4 separate regions of the Homo sapiens genome follow, and regions 1, 3 and 4 are each linked to region 2. Evidence: promoter capture Hi-C in 16 types of primary human blood cells and fetal thymus (Javierre and others, 2016). All regions are on one chromosome and are shown on one strand. The core of a region is centred on a gene start or on the middle of the fragment in contact, and the rest is flanking DNA. Distances in the headings are between cores, read along the strand shown.

The links. Contacts are between HindIII fragments. The CHiCAGO score rates a contact against its expected background, and 5 or more counts as called.
Region 1: a contact is called between a fragment that was not itself captured here and the fragment with the promoter of FAAP100 in region 2, in 1 of 17 cell types (fetal thymus). The highest score is 5.4, in fetal thymus.
Region 3: the fragment with the promoter of CEP131 here is called in contact with the fragment with the promoter of FAAP100 in region 2 in 9 of 17 cell types (monocytes, activated CD4 T cells, naive CD8 T cells and 6 more); the score reaches 8.2 in monocytes.
Region 4: a fragment that was not itself captured here is called in contact with the fragment with the promoter of FAAP100 in region 2 in 1 of 17 cell types (monocytes); the score reaches 5.9 in monocytes.

What each region holds. Positions count from the first base shown.
Region 1 is chr17:81,240,491-81,243,190 of GRCh38, forward strand. It overlaps NDUFAF8 (NADH:ubiquinone oxidoreductase complex assembly factor 8), which reads left to right. Exons shown (of 3, transcript NM_001086521.2): 3 at 497-820. The coding sequence ends at 526. Among named protein-coding and RNA genes, the nearest start is that of NDUFAF8, 2.5 kb to the left of the region's middle. RefSeq lists a silencer at 1,939-2,233. The HindIII fragment of the contact is 3,989 bases long and covers 1-2,700 here.
Region 2 is chr17:81,550,609-81,554,138 of GRCh38, forward strand. FAAP100 (FA core complex associated protein 100) reads right to left here and starts at 1,745. Exons shown (of 9, transcript NM_025161.6): 1 at 1,558-1,745; 2 at 1,320-1,444; 3 at 1-595. The coding sequence starts at 1,722. LOC124904085 (a long non-coding RNA gene) reads left to right here and starts at 1,751. Exons shown (of 2, transcript XR_007065947.1): 1 at 1,751-1,898; 2 at 2,434-3,530. RefSeq lists enhancers at 1-5, 2,152-2,271, 2,801-3,376 and silencers at 1,312-1,411, 1,472-1,711, 1,852-2,011, 2,592-2,671, 2,682-2,751. The HindIII fragment of the contact is 8,658 bases long and covers 1-3,530 here.
Region 3 is chr17:81,221,536-81,224,657 of GRCh38, forward strand. CEP131 (centrosomal protein 131) reads right to left here and starts at 1,430. Exons shown (of 26, transcript NM_014984.4): 1 at 1,234-1,430. RefSeq lists enhancers at 1-461, 462-1,131, 1,132-1,801 and silencers at 1,163-1,492, 1,653-2,022. The HindIII fragment of the contact is 19,797 bases long and covers 1-3,122 here.
Region 4 is chr17:81,265,563-81,268,961 of GRCh38, forward strand. The region is part of intron 10 of SLC38A10 (solute carrier family 38 member 10); the gene reads right to left. Among named protein-coding and RNA genes, the nearest start is that of NDUFAF8, 28 kb to the left of the region's middle. The HindIII fragment of the contact is 8,831 bases long and covers 1-3,399 here.

The sequences.
Region 1 (2,700 bases), core at 201-2,700, 310 kb before region 2:
GGAGACCCCGTCTCTACAAAAAAAAAGAAAAAAAAAATTAGCCAGGCATGGTGGTGTAGTCCCAGTTACTTGGGAGGCTGAGGTGGGAAGATCACTTGAACCTGGGAGGTGGAGGTTGCAGTGAGCCGAGATCACGCTGCTGTACTCCAGCCTAGGCAACAAAGTGAGACTGCATCTCAAAAAAAAAAAAAGGGGGGGGGCTCCTGCTTTCCCTCTATGAGAGCTTGAGACCAAATGTGGCATCTCGTGGGGGCTCAGAGGAGGGGGCAGCAGTGAGTTCTGTGATAGTGTCATGAGGCCCTTGTCCCGTGGACAAGTGACCCAGAGAACCTGCCCATGGGGCCCCAGGCTCCAACCAGTCGAGCCCCCACCATATGCCAGCACCCAAGTTCTCTGTAAGGTATTTGGTAGAACACAACGTGTGGTGTGGTAGCTTGCTTTTGAGGCGTATCTAACTTGGAAGCAAGCCATTCAGACAAAACACTTTATCTTGCAGGCCAAGAAGACGCTGGAGGGAGGCTGTTAGGAGGGACTCTGAGCTTCACACCTGTCTGCTGCCATGGGTGCAGAGCCCTAGTCCTGATGGCCCCTGGTGGCACATATCGAATGCCTAGGGCAGAAAGGAAGTGGGAATGGCGAAGATGTGACATTCCTCGGTGTTAGATCCTGTTTTTTCTTAACAAGTTGAGGCGTGGGTAGAGCAGGAATTGGTTTTCCAGCATTGTGTCCGTAAACCTGAGTTAGAATAAGATGTAACGGAAGCCACGATAAAGACTCGGTCAAATCCTGCAGCCTGGGGCTTACTGTGTGCAGACTGCAACATGTGGGTCTTGGCCTCTCTGAGATGGAATGGGGCCCAGAGCCTTTCCCCCAAAGCTGGCAGGGCTGGGACTTGGGGACACCCTGCCTCAAGGTCCCCGTTTTAAAACACTCTCACTAAGGTATTTAATGTGAATCTGGTGAAGCCTGCAGACCTTGCTGTGGGTATACAGCACACACCAAAGACAAGGACGTCAGCACCACGAGGGGACACTCCATGGGGCAGGGTCCTCGCAGGTGGCTTTCCTGGACACGGGGCAGGGCGGAGGCTCTTCACAAAAGGGCCTGAGTCTCCGAGAGGGGCCTGCGTAGAGCACCAGCAGCCAGTGCCCCTCCTGTGTGGGGTTGGTCGCCCCCTCGGCAGCCCAGGTACTTCACCGATGGCGCCTGCCCTCTCGTTCCCCCTCCCTATCACATCACTTGACCTAAAACTAAGGTGAGAAGGGCCACATCCTGACTCTGCCCGGGCACTTGTTGATGGTGAGACCCCGGAGTCCATGGGGCCTGAGCGCCACCTGCAGGGCGTGGCGGGGACTGCTTTGAGAGCCCCCCTGCTCCGGGGTGCAGAGGCTGCACTTTCCTGGGGCTGCAGCCTGCGCCTGCCCCCAGGCCCGTGCTAGCGGCTGACCCCGTGGGCTGAGGTCTGTTCCTCCATGTTTCCTCCTCCAGATGCTGCCCCAGAATTAACCTGGTTTCCCCTAAGGGTCTGATCTGGGTGGTGGGTCTGCAGGAGCCAGGCCAGAGTGCTGGATTTTGTCCCAAGGGCCAGGATAGTGTCACATCTTGGGAACCACGGAAATCCAGACCAGACTCCTGGGGTCAAGCCACCGCAGTCCATCCCTGTGCATGCCAGACTCAGATGCCCTGCGCTGGCACAAACCACCCGACCCGCCTCCCCAGCGTGCAGGGCCGGCTGCCCCCCACCCCTGCCTTCCTCCTTCTTGTGCCCAGCACTCATCCATGAGCGAGCCTCAGTGTGCAGACGTCCTTTTCTTAGCCCTGTCACGCCCTCTCCGTTCTCTGGCAGCTCATTGGCAGAGCTTCCTGCATCTTCTCCCTCCAAATCCAGCCTCCCATCCCACCCACAGACCTGTCTTGCCAGCACTCCCCCTCGCTGTCCTTCACCCTGTGTGTGAGGTGGTGACAGACCTGCCACTTCCTGTGGCCCAGCGTGGCCCACACCTCCAAACTCAGCTCTCAGGCCTCCGGGGTACACCCTCTTTTCTGCCACCCCAAATTTCCTTGCAAACCTCCCACCTTTGCTCTGCCCTTCCTCCCTGAGTGACTGGATTTCAGCACCACATCGATTGACAGCTCAGGAAGCTGGGCGGGTGGGGGGGGGGGAGGCGGGGGGGAGGGGGAGGGGAGGTTGTGGGGGTTCTGCTGTTTTCGCACCGCAGGGACAGTGTGGAGCTCTAACTGCTTCAGGTGCCCTTGGGCCGTCCCTGCTGCCCTAACAAAGCACCTGAGACTGGGTGATTTACAAAGAACGGCCTGATTTTTCACAGCTCTGCAGGCTGCGAAGCCCGAGATCCAGGCATTGGTACTGGTGTCTGGGGAGGGCCTTTGTGCCGTGTCCTCACACTGCAGAAGGCGGAGGTGCAGCCTCTTTTATAAGGCTCTTAATCGTACGAGCGAGGAAGGAGCCCTCGGCCTAGTCACCTCTTGATACTGTCACTTAGGCAACTCCTGAATTTTGGAGGGGACACATCAAACCACAGCAAATGCCTTGGCTCTCAGGAGATACCCAAAGTTCTTTGAGGGCTCAGCTCCGCTCAATCCGTCCCTGGGCCAGCGTGCTGCGCAAGTCTGTTCCCGCGCAGAAGTACACACCGGCGACGGGACAGCGCTATCCCTGCTCTGGAACTGAGCCCCCAGAGG
Region 2 (3,530 bases), core at 495-2,994:
TGCAGCCTGTGGCTCTGTCTTCAAGGCCCCTATGAAGATGACGGGCTCCTCCAGGTGATGGAGGATCTTGACAAGGGCATTTGGGTCACCAGGGGCTGACCTGGAGGTGACCAGGGCCTTCAGGATCACACAGCAGAGCTGGCCATCAGGGAGACCACAGAGGACCACAGGTGACTGCAGGAGGGTGGCATCAGCTCCAAAGAGGAGCCCGAAGAGGGCGTCCTCCAGCGTGAAGCCCCCGGAGCCCCCGAGGAGGTCGTGCGGGACCCTGGAGCCTGATGGTGACACAGAGCACAGCACTGGAAGGAAGTGGGGGGCTGCAGGCTTTCCTGGGACCCCGGCTGGGGGCGTGTAGGAGGACAGCTCCACCTCACCGATCTGGCCTCCTGGCCGGGGGTCCTCCCCAGGACAGGGCTGCTCAAACAGCTGCATCTTCCATCGGGCAGGGCCCTGCACCAGGGTGACCAGCACACTGTCCAGCAAGGTGAACGCGCACAGCGCAGCATCGGGAAGGATGCAGGCATCGGGGTCCACAGGGATCACGGGGGAAGGCTGGTCACCGTCCTCGCTGTCCCTGTCATCCTGGCTCGTAGACCTTTGAGAACAGGGACGCACTGGTCAGGCCTGGGCAGGGTGGGATTCCCACGTTCTCTTCACAATAACCTGGCATGGAGTAGTCTGGCTCAGGGGTTCCCGCAGTGACCCCCAAGGCCGCTCAGCAGTCCATCTGCCACATGGCCTCCCACCTTCCCCACGAAGGATACTCTTGACAAGAAGTACCAGGCATCCAAAACCAGCGTGAACCGACACCTGTCAGCATAGAACCGTCAGGCTGAGGCCCAGGCTGCAAAGTGCACAGGCTGCCCCCTCTACAGCCTGGGCCGCGGTCAGCAGCTGCTGGCTCTGCACTGAAGACAGGCCTGGCTGCCCGGAGCTCGCTTCCTTCCAACCCAGATGGTGTCCACTGATCACTGACTCGGGGTCACGGTGCCTTTGCTGTCTCCTCCCTCCAATAAAGACCCAACCTCGGGGGCGTGTCTCACCAGACAGCACCGGGCCACCAGGGCCCAAAGGACAGGATCCCGCGCCCCGCCGTGGGCTTAACCATGTGAACCCCACTTACTAAGGACTGTGAGCAAGACACTTGCAGAAAGAGTGCTGGGGGCAGGGGCTCCAGATAATCGGGCAGGGATGGCGGCCGAGGCTTCAGAGCTGGCGGCAGCCCGGGTCCCCAAGCGCGATGAGGTGGGGCTGCTCGCTCTGAAGCAGTCCGGGGGCAGCAGGAGTGTGCGGGAGGGAGGCCGCGGGCCCGCCCTCACCTGCTCCTGCCCGGGTGGTCCAGCGACAGGCAGTAGAGGCCCCTCCGGGCGCACAGCGCGTACAGCAACCTGCGCGGCGCCAGCAGCTCCAGGTGCCACACCTGGTCGGGGAACCGGAACGCCGCCTGCGGACCGGGGCGCGGGTCAGGCCGACGCGACGCGCGGGCCCGCGGTCTTCATTTTCACGCGAACCGCCGCCCCCGCCCGGTCCCTCCCGCCCCCGCGGGCCGGCGCTCACGGTCAGCAGCCCGCCCTCCTGGTCGTACACGTAGACGAGCTCGCTCCCGGTGGACAGGAAGACCTCTGCCTCATGGCACAGCACGCGGGGCTTGCCCGCCGCCAGGCCCCCGAGAGGGCAGCAGAAGCCCGCCAGGTAGCGGACCCGCGGCGCGGCGCCGGCCATCGTGCGCGCGGGCCCGTCAGAGTGAGAAGCCCCGGCCGCGCGGCGGCGGCTCCGCCTCGGAGCGCTTTACGGCAGCCCGCTGTGCGGCGCGACCTCCGCCGTAAAGCGGTCGGCGGTGCCGGGGGCGGGCCGGAAAGGACGCGCTGCAGGGACTCCGGGAGCTGGGGCGGTCGCTGGTACCCACGGGGAGCAGGGGAGCCTTCCTAGGGGCCGCGGCACCGTGCCGCAGGTCGAGGTTGACCCGGCCGGGCTGGTGGGAGCCCTCGGCGGCTTCATGGCCCCGGCTGCTGCACGGGTTCCCCAGGGTGGGGAAGCGGGTCCTGGCCGAGCAGAGGTTGCTCTTGGGCGGGGCGTCTCCCCGGAGCAAGCGCTCAGCTACTCGGGCTTTTGCGTAAACGCCTCGATTCTCTGGGCTCTCGGAGAGCAGCTGGGTCCTGCCGGAGCGCACTCCAGCCGGGGTCGGGGTGGGGCAGCGCCGGCTCTTGTCGTCCTAGGGATGGGTCTCTGCCCTGTGCTCTGCGAGCCGCCCCGGCCGCCCCCGCGTTCAGGGCCCAGCGGAGTGAGCCAGCTTAGGTGGAAGTGCGTCCCTCCCTCCGTGGCTGAACACGTGGGGACAGGGAGTACACCAATGGGGTTTCTGGGTTGGGGGCAGAGGACAAGAAAATGACTGTGAGCCAGGGCAAGATACCTCCACCCTCTCCCTCCTGGCAGCTCTCCACTTCCTCCAGGAGAGAAGTACTGACCAGAGAACGCCCGTGGAGGGGCCTGCAGTACGGACACCTGCTCCATGCCCGGAAGAGAGCGGAAACCAGGCACACCATTCACAAGTAAATGACCAAGGAACCCCGCCCCCGGCCCGCCTCCCTCCGTTTAAGAAGCCAATCTGAAGAGCGCTAAGGCCAGACACCCTCGAGGGAGAATCTAGGGGCAGGGCTGCAAAACTGGGCTTGGAAGTTAGGCAGACATCGTGGAGTCCGGGTGCACCTGCTGGAGCACAAAGCACCACTTGCAGACATCCTGACCGCCCCCCTTTGAGGTTGGGGTGGGGACTGACCCCAAGGCAACGGGGATGTCTGATTCTGAATGTTGGGTTAGACAGACTCAAGTGCGGCACCTGGAGTCAGTTCCTTGCTCCTCTCTTCTCGCCAGGGCTGCTCTGAAGGTGTTTGGGCTGGAAATGCTGTCTTTGATGCTGGGGAGTGGGGAGAGGAGGGCCAGGTGCATCTCATTTGGCCTTCAGAGTCAGGAAGTCAGATGCCGCATCGTTGTGAATTTCCCCACAGGGATCCTCCGCTGGTCTTCTGACCGAATTTCCCCACAGGAATCCGCAGGTCTTCTGACTGCTAGTTTTAACCCTCTGAAGCCTTGTGAGTCACTCGCTCACACACACCAACCCCATCCAGTCCTCCCAGGCCATCTCTTCCATACGGATGGTAACATGCCAAGACTGTCCTAGAGGAAATGATCACGATCACGTGGAGGAGGAAACGGACGTGGGAGAAGGCCCGCCAAACCAGCAGCCTCACCCCGCGGTTTACTCCGCTGCCCACCCCACTCTGCTCCGGGGGCTGGCAGGCTTTTGGCCCCACGCCAAGCCCAGCTCCTATCTGCAACAAGATTTATGATCAGTAGTCATGTGGGGGACCTTAAGCATGGATCCCAGGGGAAAGGGGGTGAGTTAGACACAAGCGAAGGGCTGAAGGCCGGCTCTCCATCAGCTGCTGGGCTGTGCCGTGCCCCACCTGTACTTGGCGAAGAGTGATGAGGGCTGAGGCAGCCTCTCTGTCCGTGGGTGTGGAAGATGCACA
Region 3 (3,122 bases), core at 180-2,679, 330 kb before region 2:
TGTTGTGGCTTTAGCCAACACAGCCTCCCTGGTTCTCCTCAAACTCAGCCAGCTTGGCCCCGGCCAGTCCCCTGCCTCTAGGTCTCAGGACACTCCCTCCCTGCACTCAGAGGCCTTCCTTGAGCACCCATCACTCTTCACTCCCCATCCGGCTCGGACTCCCTTCCTGTGGCCGCACACAGTTGGTTTATGAATTGTGTGGCTCCTGAGCAACCCCAGCACCTGCAGGGAAAGGCACTCAGCTGAACCCGTAGATGAACGGGAGAAGCTGGCGCCAGGGACCAACCTCGAGAATTACCTCCCTGCCACGGTGGCCTCCAGTAGGCCAGCAGGCACCCAGCCTATCGCCCAAGGTCACCCTGGGCTTCCTTCAGCCCGGCACCCCACAGCAGGTCCCCCAAGGTCCCTTCCACGGAGCGATGGATACCCCTACTCCCTAGAGGCTGACCCTGCCACTGACCAGGTCCCAGTCCTCAGTTATGCACTTCCGGCTGTGCGGAAGAAACTTAACACCCTCCTCCTGCAGGGCACTGTCCACCCCTGGCTGGACCCATGCAAGCCCTTGGAGCCCAGGACTCTGCTCTCCCAGCCACACTTGCAAGCGGCTCTGGGATGGCGAACGGGGCCTCTCCATGGAAACCTCCAAGCCAGAAGAAGGGAGGCCTGGGAGGCCACTACATCTTGGATAAAACTGTGTCCCTCCCAGGACCTGAAGGGGCGGGGACTGATGACCAGCGCCAGGACCTGGTTCCCAGGGTGGGCTGACCCTGACCCTGACCCTGACCCTGGACAGAGAGGCCAGAGCCCACGCGCAGAGCAGAGCCCTCCACTTGTCCTCAGGGCAGCTCCCATCTCCCCATTTTCCCCAGGGCTTAAGGCAGCCGGGCCAGAGATGCCGGGACTGGACTCCATGTTGTCCTGGGGACCGGAGGGGAGTGGAGGGAGGTGGAGAGGGTGGAGGGGATGGAGGTGGGGACCCACACCCTCAGGCACGAGCCTGTCTTCACCTGCGCGGGCCCCGGACCTCCCTCACCTGTGCGCACCCTGGATCCCCCTCACTTCCCCCGGATCCCGCCTTCAATTGCGCGGGCACCAGATCCCCCCACTCACCTGTGCGTGCCCCGGATCCCCATCACTTCATCACTGGACCAGGGCCTCCCACCTGCGCGGGCTCCGGACCCCTCCAACCTCCGTGCGCCCTGCAACCCCCTCCCTTGCCCGGGCCCCCCTCACCTGCGCGGGCCGGGGGCGCAGCCGCGAAGCCTGCCTGGCGCGCGGGGCCTGCAGATTCGGCCGGCGGGGAGGGGATGCGGAACCAGTCGCGCCCAAACCTCGGGTCGGCGACCTGGCGCCCCGCCACCCCCAACACTGCCCCGAGGCCCGGTGACAATGAAGCGGCCGGACGGCCGGGGTGAGCAGCGGCGGCAGCTAGCAACCAGCCTGGCACCACCTCCCCAGCCCGTCACGCCGGCCCGCCTTTCCTGCGCGCGCCGACTCCGGATTGGCCCTTCACGCTCCCGCTCAGGCCGTCCCGGGAGCTCATTGGGCCGCTCGGCTGTCCTTCGGGAAGTTCAAGCGTGGGAGGAGCGGCGGATGGCTGAGGGACGCGACTACAGAGAGCGGCCGATTGGACGCGGCTGGAAAGGGGCGGGTCATATAGGGGGCGGGGGACCGAGGGCGGCGGGAGGAGCTGGCCGGGCAGGGGCGGGGCCCCAGCGGTTGTGGGCGGGGCGTGAGGTGGGGGTGTGATGGGCGAGTAGGGCGAGGCAGATGTGGGCGGGGCAAGGCAGGTGTGGGCGGGGCACGCAGGGCCTGGGGAGGAGACACCAGGGAGGGCGCGAGGAGCACGCGGCCTCGGCTCGGCTCCCCGACACCCCCAGGCCGCCGCACTCCCGCGGCCCGGGGCTCCCCCAGTGTCCTAGGCCGCTCTGTCCCCACCCACGTGCGCGACTCCCCTCGTTACTCAGTACGACTGCGAGGGCGTGTGGGCGCCTTGCTAACCTCCCTGACCTCCTTCCCTTCGCGCTGCTTTGTTGTTTTTTTTCCTTCTCCAAAGTTTTAACGCTGCGCCCCGTGCGTAGCCGCTCTGTGACTCCCCCTCTCTCCGGGAGCCCTGGGGATTCCGCCCAGGTCCTCTCCAGGGAAGCCATCCTTCCCCTAAAAGTCACAGCACACTGGTCTCCCCTGCCCCCGCTTTTTAAAAAGTCCAGTGCTCTGTAAAATAAAAAGTTTGGTTTCAGTAAAATCCACATTTTTTGGTGTGCAGTGGAGTTGTGTAACTTTAGTTACAGAACATTCTCCCTCCGGATCCCGTACCTGCTGACTGCTGGTGGCGGCTGCTCAGTTCTCTCTGTTCTCCATCCCTAGAGGCAGCCTTTTCCAGAATGTCACACAAAAGGGATGTCGCGCAGCGCGCCTGTGGGTCTGGCTTCTACCACTTCGCATTTTGAGATTCATGCTGGTTCCTCTTTATTGCTGAGTGGTATCCTGTAACCGGTGTGAACCACCGGTTCAGATGGTTTTATTTATTGATGGTTTTATTCATCAAATGAAGGACGCAGAGATTGTTCCTGGTGCTTGGCAATTATGAATGACGCTGCCATAAACATTCACTCATCGGCTTCTGTGTGGACACAACTTTTCATTTCTCTTGTGTAAATACCCAGGAGTGGGGTTGCTGGATCAAATGATTGTTTATAAGAAACTGCCGGCCGGGCGCAGTGGGTCCCACCTGTAATTCCAGAACTTTGGGACACTGAGGTGGGCGGATCACCTGAGGTCAGGAGTTCGAGATCACCCTGGCCAACATGGCAAAACCCCGTCTCTAGTAAAAATACAAAAAAATTACCCGTGCCTGGTGGCGTCTGCCTATAATCCCAGCTACTCAGGAGGCTGAGTCAGGAGAATCGCTTGACCCCAGGAGGCAGAGATTGCGGTGAGCGGAGATCACCACTGCACTCCAGCCTGAGCGACAGAGCAAGACTCCATCTCAAAAAAAAGAAAAAGAAAAAAAAAAGGAAACCGCCAAGCTATTTTCTTTTTCTTTTTTTTCCTTTTTTTTCCGAGATGGAGTCTCCCTCTGTCGCCCAGGCTGGAGTGCAATGGCATGATCTTGGCTCACT
Region 4 (3,399 bases), core at 579-3,078, 280 kb before region 2:
CTGTCCACCCCAGCATATCACCAGTTGTGGCTCTTCCTGAGGTCCCTGGGCTGGGTACAGGCACCATATCGCTGAGAGTACTCAGACAGGCCAAGGCACAGATCCAGGCCTGTGCCCCTCCGTGGGCGCAGCCGGAGCCCCTGGGACAGTGGCCACGCCGAGATGTGGCGCCACAGGCCCAGGGTACGGCCTTGCGGTGCTGACATCTCCGTACCTAAGGAAACAGGGCATGCTGAGCGGATGGCACACGGTGGTCCGCTGGCCCCACGACCTACTGCGGAGCCGTAGGAGCGCTGGGGACAGGACGCACCAGACCCAAGTCAGAGGGAAAAAGAAACCTCTCCGTCTCCTCCACGCACAGCCAAACTGCGGTGAATGTGATTCAGTGCGCTTTCTAGCTTCCAAAAGACATGGCAAAGCAGGCACAGAGAGATGCTTCTTTCACCCAATTCTGTGTGTGTCTACACATGTCTACACACCAAGTCAAAAGCCGACACTGGGCTAACGGGTAAACACTAGAAGCCATCCCAGAGTCAGTGACGCGCCAGCCACTCACACCAGCAGCGCCGTGGCCACAGGTGTGTGACGCCACACACGGGCAAGAGAGGAGGAAGCGCTGCAGCAATTGGAAAGAGGGAGGCGACATCATCATTAGCTGCAGGTGAAAAGCCAAGAGATCCAGCAGGAGTACAGTAAGGTGAACGGGCGAAAATGTCACCTATGAAATCTCTAACTTCCCTTTACACAAACAGCCACTTAGAAAATCCAGGGGGAGGGCCGGACGCGGTGGCTCACGCCTGTAATCCCAGCACTTTGGGAGGCCGAGGCGGGCGGATCATGAGGTCAGGAGATCGAGACCATCCTGGCTAACATAGTGAAACCCCGTCTCTACTAAAAATACAAAAAATTAGCCGGGCATGGTTGCAGGCACCTGTAGTCCCAGCTATTCAAGAGACTGAGGCAGGAGAATGGCGTGAACCCAGGAGGAGGGGCTTGCAGTGAGCAGAGATCGTGCCACTGCACTCCAGCCTGGGCGACAGAGTGAGACTCCATCTCAAAAAAAAAAAAAAGAAAAAGAAAAAAAAAGAAAATCCAGCGGGAAAAGAGATCCCAGGATAGCATGCAGTGCAGCCAACAGCCACCTGGGAAACAGATGGGAACGAAGGACCTACAGTGAGGTCTGGATAAACCAAATGCAGTGCCTTCCTGCTGAGCAGGAGAGTTCGCAAGGACATCTGCACATCAGCTACAGTGTAAAGACGGCAATTCCCAAGTTAATCTATAGTTTCAATAAGCCCAGTTAGACCAAAAAATAAAAAGCAGGACTAATTTTTTGTTAGAGTCAGATGGGCTGATTCCAACATTCATACAGAAAATAAAACAAAGACTATGCAGAAAATGTATTATTAACAGCCAAGAGGCGAGATGAGAATTAAAGTGTTCCAAGAGCAACAAGTCACAACTCCGTGAGTGTTACCAGGGTGTGGCAACTAACACGCAACTAACATGCAACTAACATGCAACTAACACAGTACGGAAGGGCAGACCAGCCAATAAAGTAAAACACAGGTCCCAAGTTAGGCCCGAATACATATAAGAATTTAATCTACAATAGCACTAACATTTCCCATCAGTGATGGATTATTCAATAAATCATGTCTGACGACTAGGGAACCATCTAGAAATAAACTGAGGATACATACTTTGTTTCTTACACCAAAATAAAATACAGGTAGATCAAAGATTTAAATTAAAAAAATGAAGTCATTAAAGTACTAAAAAAATGAGGGAGGAATTATTTTAAAATAATACTGGAGTGGGGAAATTCTAACTATGGCCCTCCCCCTCCTTCTTCTTTTAAAATAGTACTGGAGTGTGGAAATTCTAACTATGACTCTTTCTTTCCTTCCTTCCTTCCTCCCTCCCTCCCTTCTTTCTTTCCTTCTTTCTCCTGCTAACTCACAGAACAGATGTTTTTTCTAAGGAAGCCCAATGGACTAAAACATGGGACCTGGCATAGCAGGACATGTGCCATCTGATGAGCAGAGGCTGAGGCTCTCATGCTATCTTAAGCTCCTAAAACTCACCAAGAAACTTCCTCATCAAGCTATGGCATAATAGCTGGTATCAAACTGGTCTTCCTATTTAAAACAATGGTAAAAGCTGAATAAAAACAATAAAAACACCCAACCAAAGACACTGGTAAACAGCTCTGTCAGCTCAGACTTGAGAGGTCCAGATCCCAGAGGACAGAGAAAAGCCCTTAGTCACAGAGAGGTCAAGCCTGTTGCCCTTGGAGACTCATCGATCATTGGGACTAAGCAGACAAGACAAGAGAGCACAACAGCCTAGAGCCTGGGCACACTCACAGGGCTGGGCACCGAGAAGCAAGAATGAGGGCGCTCCAGCAGCCAGAGCTCGAGGGAGAGAAGGAAACCTCGGAGAAGGACGCCACTCCACATTCTGTGTGCAAAAATCTCCCCCAAAGCACTTGCCAGCTATCAGCTATGCAGAGAGGAGCCAGCAAGATGATGAACGCCAAGCAGAAGATGAACGCCAAGCAGAAGATTCACCATTTGAGGGTGTCACTGCCCAGCTGAGACCCCAGAAGGGCTGTACCCTAGGAACAAGGCCAACTGAAAACACATTTGCCTCAATGGGACACAGGCCTTCTGCCTATCCCCTGTATGATGGATGAATGACAATGTCACCCAGAACTTCTACGATTTCTCAAACACAACATCTGCAAAATACCAGGCACACTAGAAAACAAGACCCCAGGACAAAAAAACAAGAAGCCACAAAGAATCAATATCAATACTTTTTTCTTTTTCTTCTTCTTTTTTTTCTTTTTTTTTTGAGACGGAGTCTTTTGCTCTGTTGCCCAGGCTGGAGTGCAGTGGTGCTATCTCGGCTCACTGCAACCTCCACCTCCCGGGTTCAAGTGATTCTCCTGCCTCAGCCTCCCAAAGTGCTGGGATTACAGGAGTGAGCCACCATGCCTGGCTCAATAATTACTATTTGAAACAACAATAACAATGTCTTGTGGAGTTTTAAATAAGGGTTGATATCAACTGCCTAGTATAATCATTAGAAGAATAGAAATGTACCAACAAGCCAAAAAAAGAGTAAATATTTAAAATGTTTGATTGATCCAAAGAAAGTAAAAGCAAAAACAGAAAAAGGACATATGAGACAAATAATAGGACATAAGTTGAAAGTTTTCCCTCAAAAATCAGTTATTATATTAACTGTAAATAGTCTTAAATACTCCCATTCACAGACTGAATAAGAACAAGACAAAAGTCAACTGCATGCTGTTATAAGAGACATACCATGAATATAATGGACTAGAGAAATCAAAAGAAAAGGGATGAAACAAGCTATCCTGTGCAAATA